2 separate regions of the Homo sapiens genome follow, and region 2 is linked to region 1. The links are contacts of gene promoters, found by promoter capture Hi-C in human tissues and cell types (Jung and others, 2019). All regions are on one chromosome and are shown on one strand. Each heading gives the region's core, a stretch centred on a gene start or on the middle of the fragment in contact. The rest is flanking DNA. Distances are from core to core; before and after follow the strand shown. Region 1 holds the start of HSF4 (heat shock transcription factor 4). Region 2 overlaps CBFB (core-binding factor subunit beta).

Region 1 (6,464 bases), core at 3,768-6,267:
GGCTGGAGCAGCCGCCGGTGACATCTGCGCCGCGCCCACGCTTCGGAGCCAAGATCCACCTCCTCTCCCGCCCGCACCGGGGAGCCCACCCACCCACCTGCTGCACTAACCTGGCCGCCTCGGCGGGGCCTGGGTTCCCACGCCCGCCAGGCTCCGCTCTACTCCGCCGCTTCCGGGTGTGCGCGGAGGCGCTGGGGCGGTGCCCTAGCCCGAGCCGCCCCGTCCGCCCGCGCGTCCCGCCCCGCGGGCTCCCGGTGGCTGCTTCCCGTCCGCTGTCCTCTGCTGCCAGTCCCCTGCCCCGGGCAAAGCCCATCTGGTCCGCCGAGCAGGTAAGACACCAGCGCCCAAGGTTAGACGGCAGGAAGACCCGACTTTGGGGGTTTGCGATTCTTACGAGGCGGGGGGCTCGTAAGAGCTACAGCTGCCAGACTTCGGTAAATCAAGGGGGCGCCCCCTGGAGACCAGAATTTTCTGGTACCCCTGGGGATCCGGCTTCAAGATCGCTGCTACCAGTGGGCACTCAAAACGGGGTGCCCATGGGTCCCAGGTACAAGCCCGGCCGAACGTATCTGAAGCCCCAGGAAACACGTGGCACAAATTCCGGGAGAAACTGTTAGCCCGGAAGATATGGGAACATTAACTGGCGAGTAGTGTGAAGCCTTGTGTACACAAACCTTTAAGAACCTTAAAACAAGATTGGCGGCCGGGCGCGGTGGCTCACGCCTGTAATCCCAGCACTTTGGAAGGCCGAGGCAGGTGGATCACCTGAGGTCAGGAGTTTGAGACCAGCCTGGCCAATATGGTGAAACCCCGTCTCTACTAAAAATACAAAAATTAGCCCGGCGAGGTGGCGCGCGCCTGGAGTCCCAGCTACTCGGGAGGCTGAGGCAGAAGAATCGCTTGAACCCGCGAGGCGGAGTTTGCAGTGAGCCGAGATCTCGCCACTGCACTCCAGCCTGGGCGACACAGCTAGATTCCGTCTCAAAACAAAACAAAACAAAAACAAACAGGATTGGCAACTTCAAAGAGGACGCACACTTTCCAGTAACCCATCCCCCTCTAAAGGCTGCGCTCCAGGGTGGGTCTGCGGAGTTCCAGCCGAACCCAAATTGCTCAGCGGGAGCCAGGGCTGCTCAGGGGTCGGAACTTAAATCTTGAGCCCCTCAGGCCCCAGAACCGTCAGGTCCCAGAGACCCAAGTTTTTTTTCATCCAGTGGGGCTGTCTTAGGAAGCACCCGGGACATCTCCCCGGCGAGGCGGAGGCGGGGAAGGAGCCTCCCCTCCAGGGGTGGATCCAGCTTTGCCCCGCCCACGCCTCGCTTCCTGATTGGCTCATGGTCCCTGACAAAGAAAAGCCTACATTAACGCTCCCGCCTTATTAACCCTGTAGTCACTTTCTACTAACCGGCGGGGTTAAGATGGGGTTTCTCAGGCCGGGCGCGGTGGCTCATGCCCGTAATCCCAGCACTTTGGGAGGCCCAGGCGGGCCGATCGCTTGAGCCTAGGAGTTCGAGGTCAGTCTGGGCAACAAAGCGAGACCTCGTCTCTGCAACAAAATTACAAAAATTAGCCAGGCGTGGTGGCGTGCCCCTGTAGTCCCAGCTACTCGGGAGGCTGAGGTGGGAGGATTGCTTGAGCCCGGGAGACTGAGGGTGCAGTGAGTTGTGATTGCGCCACTGCACTCCAGCCTGGGTAAAGAGCGAGACCCTGTCTCAAAAAAAAAGAAAAAAAAAAAAAAAAGTGGGAGGGGAGTTCTCAACGTGGAACCTGTGGAGTCACAGGGGCTTGTTGAAATGCAGATTCCTGGGCCTTACCCTTTCCGGAGAGCCTGATTTAGTAGGTGAGGCGGTGAAATCTGCTTTGTGAACAAGTTTCGGGGTTATCTGATGCCCCACGCTGTCTGAGAGGCCCTCAGTTCCTCAGGCCACAAGCATTTGTACACCTAAGCTCGGTCTTCCTGCAACACTTTGCGCCTTCCCGACCTCAGAGACGTCCGTCTCTCTCCAGGCCGGAGCTATTGGGAGTGGCGGATCCTCCCACCCCAGCCGGATCTGGGCCATGGCCGAGCCTGGAGAGGGACTGCCAGAGGAGGTGCTGGCACTCATCTTCCGCCACCTGTCCCTGAGAGACCGTGCTGCCGCCGCCAGGGTCTGCAGGGCCTGGGCCGCCGCTGCTACCTGCAGCGCCGTGTGGCACGACACAAAAATCAGGTGAGCCTGCTCCTCCACACTCCTCTCCCCACCGCCCACTCACCTTCTCCGTGGAGTCGTGGGCTAGGTAGATATTCAGGTTGACTCCCCCATATTAAAAAATAATTGCTGGCCGGGCGTGGTGGCTCATGCCTGTAATCCCAGCACTTTGGCAGGCCGAGGCGGGTGGATCACCTGAGGTCAGGAGTTTGAGACCAGCCTGGCCACCATGCTGAAACCCCGTCTCTACTAAAATACAAAAACTAGCCGGGCATGGTGGTGGGCGCCTATAATTCTAGCTACTCGGGAGGCTGAGGCACAAGAATCGCTTGAACCCGGGAGGCAAAGGTTGCAGTGAGCCGAGATGGCACCACTGCACTCCAGCTTGGCGACAGAGTAACAGTTTATCTCAAAATAATAATAATAATTGCTGACGTATTGACTGCCTAGTATATACCAACCATTGTTTTTAAGTGCCTTACATATATTAACTAATTTAATCCTTATGAAAACCTTGTGTGGTAGATAGGTATTATCATTACCTCCATTGCCCAGATAGGAAACTGAGGCAAAGAGACTTAATCACTTCCCACGGGTCACTCAGCTAGGGAATGGCAGAGGCAGAATTCGAACCTAGCAGTCCGGAGGCCATGCCAAGACTCCTTAGAGACAGCTGAGAAAGCCCAGTTCCTAAAATATCATTGGCTCTCCATGTCCAGGTTTCATCCTGTGGCAGACGCCACTGAAATCTTCTAAAAGGATAGGATGCGAGTTCCCTCCTTTGGGGCAACAGTCGTGGTCTGAACAGAGACGTGGGGAGGGAGGCAGGAAATGGGATGGCAGCTGGAACCCCAGCTAAGGGGTGGGTAGAGGCTTCTCCGCTGGTCGCAGGGACTCAGCTGAGGCCTTTTCTGCACGGCTCTAACCCAAGTTGCGAATGTGAGCTGGAAGGCATGCTGCCACCTTATCTGTCCGCCTGCCTCGACCACATTCACAACCTACGGCTGGAATTTGAGCCATCGAGGAAGCCGAGCCGCCGGGCGGCCATCGAGCTGCTGATGGTTCTGGCGGGCCGTGCCCCGGGGCTGCGAGGCCTGCGCCTGGAGTGCCGCGGAGAAAAACCGCTCTTCGACGCGGGCCGCGACGTCCTGGAGGCTGTGCACGCTGTATGCGGGGCGGCCAGCCAGCTACGCCACCTCGACCTGCGGCGCTTGTCCTTCACACTGGACGACGCGCTGGTGCTGCAGGCGGCGCGCAGCTGTCCCGAGCTCCACAGCCTTTTTCTGGACAACAGTACCCTAGTGGGCAGCGTGGGTCCCGGCTCAGTGCTCGAGCTACTGGAGGCCTGCCCGCGCCTGCGCGCTCTCGGCCTGCACCTAGCCAGTTTGTCGCACGCCATCCTCGAAGCACTGGCGGCGCCAGACCGAGCGCCTTTCGCGCTCTTGGCTCTGCGGTGCGCGTGCCCCGAAGATGCACGCGCGTCCCCGCTGCCCAACGAAGCCTGGGTCGCGTTGCGCCGCCGCCACCCTGGGCTGGCAGTGGAGCTGGAGCTGGAGCCCGCGCTGCCCGCTGAGAGCGTGACGCGCGTCCTGCAGCCAGCCGTCCCCGTGGCTGCGCTGCGCCTCAACCTCTCAGGCGACACCGTAGGCCCAGTGCGCTTCGCAGCACACCACTACGCCGCAACCCTGTGCGCGCTCGAGGTGCGCGCAGCCGCTTCGGCCGAGCTGAACGCCGCGCTGGAGGAGCTGGCGGCGCGCTGCGCGGCCCTGCGCGAGGTGCATTGTTTCTGCGTGGTGAGCCACTCGGTGCTGGACGCCTTCCGCGCGCACTGCCCGCGCCTGCGCACCTATACCCTCAAGCTCACGCGCGAGCCGCATCCCTGGAGGCCTACGCTCGTGGCGTGATTGGGCGACTTCTCTCCCCCGTCCCCGTGGACGTAAGCGCTCTGAGAGGGAACGGGGGGGGTGTCCAGGCGCGCCCCGAGTGCTAGTGCCTTCTTTTGGGATTGTTGCCCCCCGGGTCTTTACCGAGTTGGGAACTGTGATGGCATCGGGACCAGTCCTGGGCGCCCTGAGACCACTCGCTGCTCTCACCCTCTGCAGACGCCCCACCCGCTCGGTCCTGGACACACTGCCCCCCTCTCTTGCCTCCACCCCTCTGCGGACTCTGCAGCTCCGCGGCCCCGGCGCAGGGAGAGGGAGGGCACGGGCGCGGGCCGGGCCTCAAGGGTGAGTGTGAAATAAACAAATCCTGCAGTGTTTCTGCGTCCTATTAAAGGCGGGGTCGGATCTGAAAGGGAAGGACAGGGAACGCGCGGGGTACCGGAGGAGCCATCCCGGCAGAGGTTGGGTTTCCTCAAGAGCCTCTGGACGACACAGCTGCGGGGGGTCAGGGTCGGGGCACTCACACCCTTGGAATGACTACGTCCCGGGGTTCGGCGGGAGGGGGCGTGCTTCCCTGCCCCCCCTTCCTATCTGCTTGCCCTGCCTGGGGCTTCACTGTGCCTCTGGCCATTACCTTCTAGGACTTGCCCAGCCCACACCAGGTCGCGCACCGGCGATTTCTCCTGTAGAACAAAGAAGGAAATAGAGGGACCGAGAGGGGTGGGACTCGAACCCAAGTCTCCCACTCATCTCACCCCACCCCACCCCACTCCACCCCACCCCACCCCTCCACTCCACTCCACTCCACACATCCCATCCAGCCAGCCTTTTCTGCCTGCTGGTGCCTCGGCCGCTGTCCGAGCCCCGCCCCGCGGGCTTGCACGTGGCCCCCGCCTGACCCGGCGCCCCGGGGCGGAGTAGGGCGGAGCGGGCGGCAAACGCAGCACTTTCCGCGGCTTTGACGAGCCCGCAGCGGCCGGGCCCGAGCGCAGAGCCGGGCCGAGACTGCACCATGCAGGAAGCGCCAGCTGCGCTGCCCACGGAGCCAGGCCCCAGCCCCGTGCCTGCCTTCCTCGGCAAGCTATGGGCGCTGGTGGGGGACCCAGGCACAGACCACCTGATCCGCTGGAGCCCGGTGAGGGCCGGGGCCCCTCGATTCCCCCTGTGGTCCCGGGGTCCCTCCACGTCAGTGAACACCCATGCCCGCCCAACCCCCTCCTGAGACTGGGCCGTGGATCCCCGGATTTGGCCATTCAGAGAAGTTCACCTTGGAGGGGGTGTGCGAGAGGGGGGTTTCCTCTGCGGCCGAAGAAGGGTTAGGAGCCTGCCTTCTGAAGACCTAGAGTCCGAGGGACCTTCGAGGCCATTTAGTTCCCACCCTACCCCATCCGACAGATGGGAAAACAGAGGCCGGGAGATGGGAAGGGCTGGTCTAGCTCAGGGTCACATTGCGGGGCTGGGAACCCCGTCAGCCTCTCCTTTCTGAGAACTGAGTATGGAGTCAGGGTCTGGCTGGGGGTAGGGACTCACTGTGGTCGCTCCAGGCTAGGCCTCGGAGCCCGTTCTGGCCTGGCCTCGACCCATATCCCCGTAAGCGGCAGGCCTGGACCCAAGAGTGAGCATGAGTGTGTGCGCGCGCTGGAGCGCAGGACTGGCCGTGAGCGGGCACCGCTCACCCTCCTGGTCTCCGCCCGCACGGTGGGCGGGCGGCGTTCTTGGTAGAGCGGGACCAGTTTCCTCGTAAGCGACCAGAGCCGTTTCGCCAAGGAAGTGCTGCCCCAGTATTTCAAGCATAGCAACATGGCGAGCTTCGTGCGCCAACTCAACATGTGTGAGTCCCTACGGCCGGGCGGGGAGCGGGGATGGGGGACTCGGTGCCGGGGATGGGGCGACCCACGCCCCCACGCCCCACTCCCCAGACGGTTTTCGGAAGGTGGTGAGCATCGAGCAGGGCGGCCTGCTTAGGCCGGAGCGCGACCACGTCGAGTTCCAGCACCCGAGCTTCGTGCGCGGCCGCGAGCAGCTACTGGAGCGCGTGCGGCGCAAGGTGGGGGCGGCCTGCGGGAATGAGCAAAGAGGAGGAGGGGTGCTGGGACTGCCTGCCTTGCTCCTGCGACCCAGTCCCGACGGTGCCTCCCGCCTGCAGGTGCCCGCGCTGCGCGGCGACGACGGCCGCTGGCGCCCGGAGGACCTGGGTCGACTACTGGGCGAGGTGCAGGCTTTGCGGGGAGTGCAGGAGAGCACCGAGGCGCGGCTGCGGGAGCTCAGGCAGTGCGGGGGCGGGCGGGGAAAGAGGGGACAGGGGTGGGGGGTTCGGGATGAGACCATAACTGGCCGGCCAGCAGTTCTGGGCAGCCCCTTCCTCTCTCCTGCCTTGGCGCCTCCATCTAGA
Region 2 (6,464 bases), core at 2,738-5,237, 62 kb before region 1:
ACTATATTGGCTGAAAACTTTTTAGTTATGAAGTTTTTCTGTGTGCTACTGTCTTGTATTTTGTATATCTAGTATTTTGATTGTCAAAACACTTTTTGACCCCAAATTATGATTTTGTCATTGCAGGCAAGAAGACAACAAGACCCTAGTCCTGGTTCCAATTTAGGTGGTGGTGATGACCTCAAACTTCGTTAATTAATAGCACAGCAGATGTGTGCTGCCCATCTTTACATACACATTGCTTCTAGTTGGCAGAAATAATTGATTAAAAGACCAGAAACTGTGATAACTGGAGGTACTACGGTCTATTTCTCAACCTTAGGCAGTAATAGACATCACAAACTGCCATGGTTTTGCACTATGATTATAATACCTGCATTTCTAATTTTTTAAGCATGTAGCCAGTAATAATTTGAAGTTTTTTTTCTATGCAAGCTTACCTTGTTGGCATTATTTTAGGGAGTTGAAACTATCAACTGTAAAGCTCCTTTTCTTCCACTTTAATTTAAAAGTTCATGTCATTTAAAAACAAGTCAAGAAATTAAAATTGTATCAGAGGGTTTTCTCTAATCATTTTTTCTATTTTTTTTTTTGTACTTCTAGATGTTTTGGTTATACAGCTTCATTTTAGATGAGCATTCTTATTTTTTGTTTTGTTTGCCCCATTTCCTTTTGTGTTTTTATAGTCTATAGCATTTTAAAACTGCTGATGTTGTTTGCATTATTTACAGGCTAAAAACTTAGTAGCATAGAGCTGTCTGCCACAGCCTTCTGACAAAGTTTACAGTTATTAAAGTTGCAGTATCCTTTTAAATGCTAGTAATCAGCACTCTTTCTTTTTTTTTTTTTTAATAGAGACAGGGTCTCGCAGTGTTGCCCAGGCTGGTCTCGAACTCCTGGCATCAAGCGATCCTCCTGCCTTAGCCTCCCAGAGTACTGGGATTACAGGCTCTTTCTTTTTAAACATAAAAGTTTTAAATTGGTATTAACTCTGTACTCTGCCCTAGATTGTTTTAGCTTCTGTTCTGTAATCATGAGTTTGGTTGGAGATATTCTCCATAGATGATCTTCTACTGAAATGCCTAAAGAAGTCACAGGCTGGCTTCTGTTTTATTCAGGGATTTTTTTAAAAAGTCAATCAGAAAAGGGATACTGGAGCTTCTTCATGTATGTAACAGCATATTAAACTGGAGACAGTGATGAATCAGCTACAAAGGTAATATTGTATTAAAATCATGTTTAAGATAGCTGCTTTTATGTGTATTTTATATTGCATGCTTTTGTAAAAACATGCTGGGTGATGAAAGATTAGTTTTAGAGAGAAAATGTTCATCTGTGCAGAGGATGCATTTTCTTCCATTAATTCTGGAAAAAACGTTCACAGTTATATATATGGTATTTTGCAAAAGGACTATTAATAGAACCTTTTGAGATGAATTAATGTAAGAATATTTTTTAAATAGGCTTACTGTCAAATTGCAACTTTTTTTTTAGATACAGAGTGGAAAACAGTGCTAAGTCATTTGGCACCTCCTTACAAATATTTTTCATGGTCACATTTATTAAATGTTACTACATTTCTGAATTTTTGAAAAATGTATTTTATCATTAAATGGCATTATTTTAAAGGGTGAAAAACTGACACAGTCAATTCAGAAAATGGACTGAAGTCTGAATAAGGTCATTGCATTTAAAAAGCATATAACTGTACTTGACTGATGAGGGAGGTGTTACTTTCATTGTATATAGGTCTTATTTCATAAACAGATATCCTGTATCAAATAAAAGTATTTGTTATATATTTGAAGTTATGCATGGAAAGGAGTGTGTTTAAATTGTTACAAACAATAATGCGTCATTAAAGGCCATGCTGATCTTGCATAACTATAAGTACTATGAATGAATTTGGTTGGTTTTGGTGTTGTACAGCTCACATGTTTACACACTCAGTGCCCTAATTTCCCCTGAGGGAATCGCTTTTTAAGTGATCCTTACAGTGGTGTTTTATGTTACTTTATTACAGAGCTCCTTGGTTTTTTACTTCTGCACTTAAATTTTTTTAAATAACATGATGATGGTACATTTTCCTCTATTGTCTAGCTAAGGGCTTTCGGTCCACCAGTAAATAAGATCAAATGCTCTTAAATGTTCCTGTTACCATCCTAATGTAAATACTGGATTTTTCTGTCATTTAGCACCATGCTGCTTCTGTCTGTCTTAATGCTGGCATTAAGATCATGAGCCCTTTTTCTCCAGTAGTACAGGCTTTGAAAACTACTTCTATTAAGTTATTGATGCAATTTGATATTTTTTCATAATCTATATTTAAACAAAATTACATCATTGCATCATCTTTTCTAAATTCATCTCCATTAAAACTTGCCTTAAGCTACCAGATTGCTTTTGCCACCATTGGCCATACTGTGTGTTTGTTTGTTTAATTTACTTTCACAATAAACTTCTGTGTAGTAAAAACAGGGTCTTGGCTCTTTCTTGACCTAACCCAGTAATTTCTAAGAAAGCAACAACAGTGGCATCTAGTGGTAATTTCTGTTGATTCCAAAGAAGACTACTTTAAATATAGGTATCACAAGGTATACAAATCCCCCAGTGTATATTATGGTTTTCAAGAAATCTGGCTTGATTTACCCATCCTGTGAGATATGACCATAAAGTAGTGATGTTGGGAGAAAGAATTTTAAATTACACATCCAAATTAGTTCCATCTTTCAAGCTAGTTGTTTTGGAAATATACAGCCGTTTTGATTGTGCTGGTGTTATATCAAACATTCTTAAGACTCCTGGCATTTTCCTACAACAGAAAAGTAAGCCCTTTTCCTTGAAAGTATGCCTTAAGCTTGACACATGATAAACAGATTCACTCATTAACCACAAGACTTACTGCAAATGACAAAAATGCCTTTAAATTCTGAATTGACACCATTAAGGGAAATTCCAAAGAGTAGGATTCATGCTCTGAGAGTTAATTTCAAAAAATTGAGCAGTAACAGCATGGTTTTAGTAAGTATATCACTTCTAGAAACATAATTGGATATGCTAGCTCGGGGCTGCTTGGTGAAAAATATCTTACTTGATTTATGCCTCATTTGGCAATGAGGAGCTTTTCAATCTATAAACCATTGTATTATCCATAACACATTACCCCAAAACTTAGCAGCTTAAAACAATAAATACGTATTATCCCACAGGTGAGTCACAAATCTGGAAGTAGCTAAGATCAATGGTTCTGGTTCAGAGTTCCTCATAAGGTTAGAGTCATCCTGGGCTACAGTCATCTCAAGGATTGACTGGATGAAAGATCCCCTTTCAAACCCACTAATGTGGTCACTGACTGGCCTCGGTTCTTTGCAGCTTGCTAGATGAAAGGCAGATGTTCCTTGCTAGATGTTGGACAGAGACCTGCTTCCATTTCATGCCCAGCTGGGTCTTTCCATAGGACAGTGCACAGCAGGGTAGCTGGCTTCCCCCAAGGCAAGTGATCCAAGAGAGCGCACACCCAAGTTGAAAGCACAGTCTTTTTTTTTTTTTTTTTTTTTTTTTTTTTGAGATGGAGTCTCGCTCTGTTGCCTAGACTGACTGGACTGCAGTGCTGCAATCTCAGCTCACTGCAACCTCCCCCTCCCGGGTTCAAGCGATTCTCCTGCCTCAGCCTCCCACGTAGCTGGGATTACAGGTGCCCATCAACATGCCCGGCTAATTTTTGTATTTTTCATAGAGACGGGGTTTCACCATGTTGGCCAGGCTGGTCTCAAATTCCTGACCTCAAGTGATTCGTCCGCCTCGGCATCCCAAAGTGCTGAGATTACAGGTGTGAGCCACCATGCCCAGCCAAAAGCACAGTCTTAGAACTGAATCTTGGGCTGCCATATTGTATGTTAGAATCAAGTCACTGGGTCTGGTCCACACTCAAAGGGGGAGGAATATTAAGCTTCATCTGTTGAAGGCGGGGATGTCAAAGCATTTGTGGACATCTTTCTAAACCACCATGGTGATATTACCAAATATACGTAACTGAGTATAAGATACCTTTGGTGTTTTGCCGGGCGCGGTGGCTCACACCTGTAATCCCAGCACTTTGGGAGGCCGAGGCAGGCAGATCATGAGGTCAGGAGATCGAGACCATCCTGGTTAACGGTGAAACCCCGTCTCTACTAAAAATACAAAAAATTAGACGGGTGTGGTGGCGGGCGCCTGTAGTCCCAGCTACTCGGGAGGCTGAGGCAGGAGAATGGTGCGAACCCAGGAGGTGGAGCTTGCAGTGAGCCAAGATCGCACCACTGCACTCCAGCCTGGGCAACAGGGCGAGACTCCATCTCAAAAAAAAAAGATACCTTTGGTGTTTTAATCTAAACATTCTTTAAAGGTAAGATTTCAGTCTTGCAGATTTGAATACATGATTCCCCCTAGATAGCATCAACCCCTTTTCTTGCATCACCATCATATATTCATATATGGCATTTCAGAAATGTTCCAAAGCTAAAAAATGACAGTCACAGGGTGAAATCATGGATGGAAATGGCAGTTTAGTTTGTTTAAATATGGAATATTCTGAAACAGATAAGTCACTGTTTTAGTCAACTCCCAGCTTTTGGTTAGAAAATTTAAGCAACTTAGAATTAAGGTCGTTATTGGCCTCATTCAGATTTCAGAAATGTTGAGGAGATGTTGTAGATAAAAATAAAAGGCCAGGCACAGTAGCTCATATCTGTAATCCCAGCACTTTGGGGGGCTGAGGCAGGAGGATTGCTTGAGGCCAGGAGCTCAAGACCAGCCTGGGCAAGATAGCAAGACCTTCATCTGCACAAAAATATTTTTCTTAATTAGCCAGGCATGGTGGTGCACACCTCTAAGTCCCAGCTACTTGGGAGGCTGGAGTGGGAAGATCGCATGAGCCGAGGATTTTGAGGTTGCAGTGAGCTATGATCTTGCCACCGCACTCCATCCTGGGCCACCAGAGCAAGATATTACCTATAAAAATAAAAATGGAAAATGTTGAAGTTCTATTTTTTTTTTGGAGACTAAAAGTATGGTTATCATTTAGGGGGGGAAATATCCAGTGTCCAAAATAAACATGTTCCCTGCTCACAAGGAATCTACAGTCTAGCTAAAAAGCTGACCAAAGGCAGTAACACTGTTTAAGTTACATTAGAAGTACTGGCTCTTATAGTACATCTATTCTAGTCTGGGTGGTGAATAAAAGCTTCCCTAAAGAGATGTTTTGAGGGTGGGTGCGGTGGCTCACGCCTGTAATCCCAGCACTTTGGGAGGCCGAGGCGGGTGGATCACAAGGTCAGGAGATCAAGACCATCCTGGCTAACATGGTGAAACCCCGTCTCTACTAAAAAATACAAAAAATTAGCTGGGCGTGGTGGCGGGCGCCTGTAGTCCCAGCTACTTGGGAGGCTGAGGCAAGAGAATGGCATGCACCCAGCAGGCGGAGCTTGCAGCGAGCCGAGATTGCACCACTGCACTCCAGCCTGGGCGAAAGAGTGAAACTCCGTCTCAAAAATAAAAAAAGAGATGTTTGAGCTAAGATCTGAAGGATGGCAGACCTTAAGCTAGCTAGAGAAGGTATTGCAGGTAGCTAGCCAATAGCTTGGCAAGTTTGAGAAGCTAAGAGCAGCTGAGTATGACTGGAACAGAAAAGAGGGGGCTGCAGCAGTGAGATGAATCCAGAAGGGCAGATTCCACCCAGCAGAGGGCAGGGTAAGAGTCACAAGCAGTGCTGGACTGGCCTTTCCAACCGTGTTAAATAAAACATTTGGACCATTCCCAAGGGTGAACAGGAAGCCATTGAGGGCTTATGACCTTGATGGAATCGGTGCTTGAGAAAACTCAATTTTGTTTGGGGAGAATAAGACTGGAGTCAGAAACTTGGTCCCACTGATCATACGATATAGTAACACAGGAAGATTAAGGGTAGCTTTGTTGGCATGGAGACATTTCAAAGCTATAAACAGTACAGGAGGCATAATTGACAGTTTTCCCAATTTCTCTTATCAGTCAGGATAGGCTGGTTATGTTGCTTTGTTTTGTTTGTTTGTTTTTTGAGATGGAGTCTCATTCTGTTGCCCAGACTGGAGTGCAGTGGTTCAATCTCTCCTCACTGCAACGTCCGCCTCCTGGGTTCAAGCAACTGTCGTGTCTCAGCCTCCCGAGTAGCTGGGATGACAGGTGCCCGCTAATTTTTTGTATTTTTAGTAGAGATGGGGTTTCATCATGTTGACCAGGCTGGTCTTGAACTCCTAACCTCAGGTGATCCACCCGCATCGGCCTCCCAAAGTGTAGGGATTACAGGCGTGAGCCACCACGCCTGGGCTGGTGTGTTGCTTTAAAACACCAAAAAAATTTATTGGCTTAAAGATTTATGTCTTATATGCTAAATACTCATCAGGGGTTGACCTAGGCTAACAAAGCAGAACTGGAGGACTGCCAGCCATTGT

Evidence for each region. Contacts are between HindIII fragments. The study calls those that stand out against the background at their distance.
Region 2: a fragment that was not itself captured here is called in contact with the fragment with the promoter of HSF4 in region 1 in 6 of the 25 tissues and cell types used here (H1 embryonic stem cells, IMR-90 fibroblasts, dorsolateral prefrontal cortex and 3 more).

What each region holds. Positions count from the first base shown.
Region 1 is chr16:67,159,728-67,166,191 of GRCh38, forward strand. It overlaps HSF4 (heat shock transcription factor 4), which reads left to right and starts at 5,018. Exons shown (of 13, transcript NM_001374675.1): 1 at 5,018-5,207; 2 at 5,795-5,903; 3 at 5,992-6,119; 4 at 6,219-6,343. The coding sequence starts at 5,085. FBXL8 (F-box and leucine rich repeat protein 8) reads left to right here and starts at 230. Exons shown (of 3, transcript NM_018378.3): 1 at 230-329; 2 at 2,008-2,210; 3 at 3,121-4,447. The coding sequence starts at 2,059. The coding sequence ends at 4,093. TRADD (TNFRSF1A associated via death domain) reads right to left here and starts at 182. Exons shown (of 5, transcript NM_003789.4): 1 at 111-182. RefSeq lists silencers at 211-350, 1,371-1,460, 3,738-3,857, 4,839-5,133, 4,883-5,122 and enhancers at 2,158-2,670, 2,744-3,692, 3,288-3,387, 3,693-4,641. The HindIII fragment of the contact is 14,459 bases long and covers 529-6,464 here.
Region 2 is chr16:67,098,584-67,105,047 of GRCh38, forward strand. CBFB (core-binding factor subunit beta) reads left to right here. Exons shown (of 6, transcript NM_022845.3): 6 at 127-2,475. The coding sequence ends at 195. Among named protein-coding and RNA genes, the nearest start is that of PHAF1, 8.1 kb to the right of the region's middle. The HindIII fragment of the contact is 4,683 bases long and covers 1,647-6,329 here.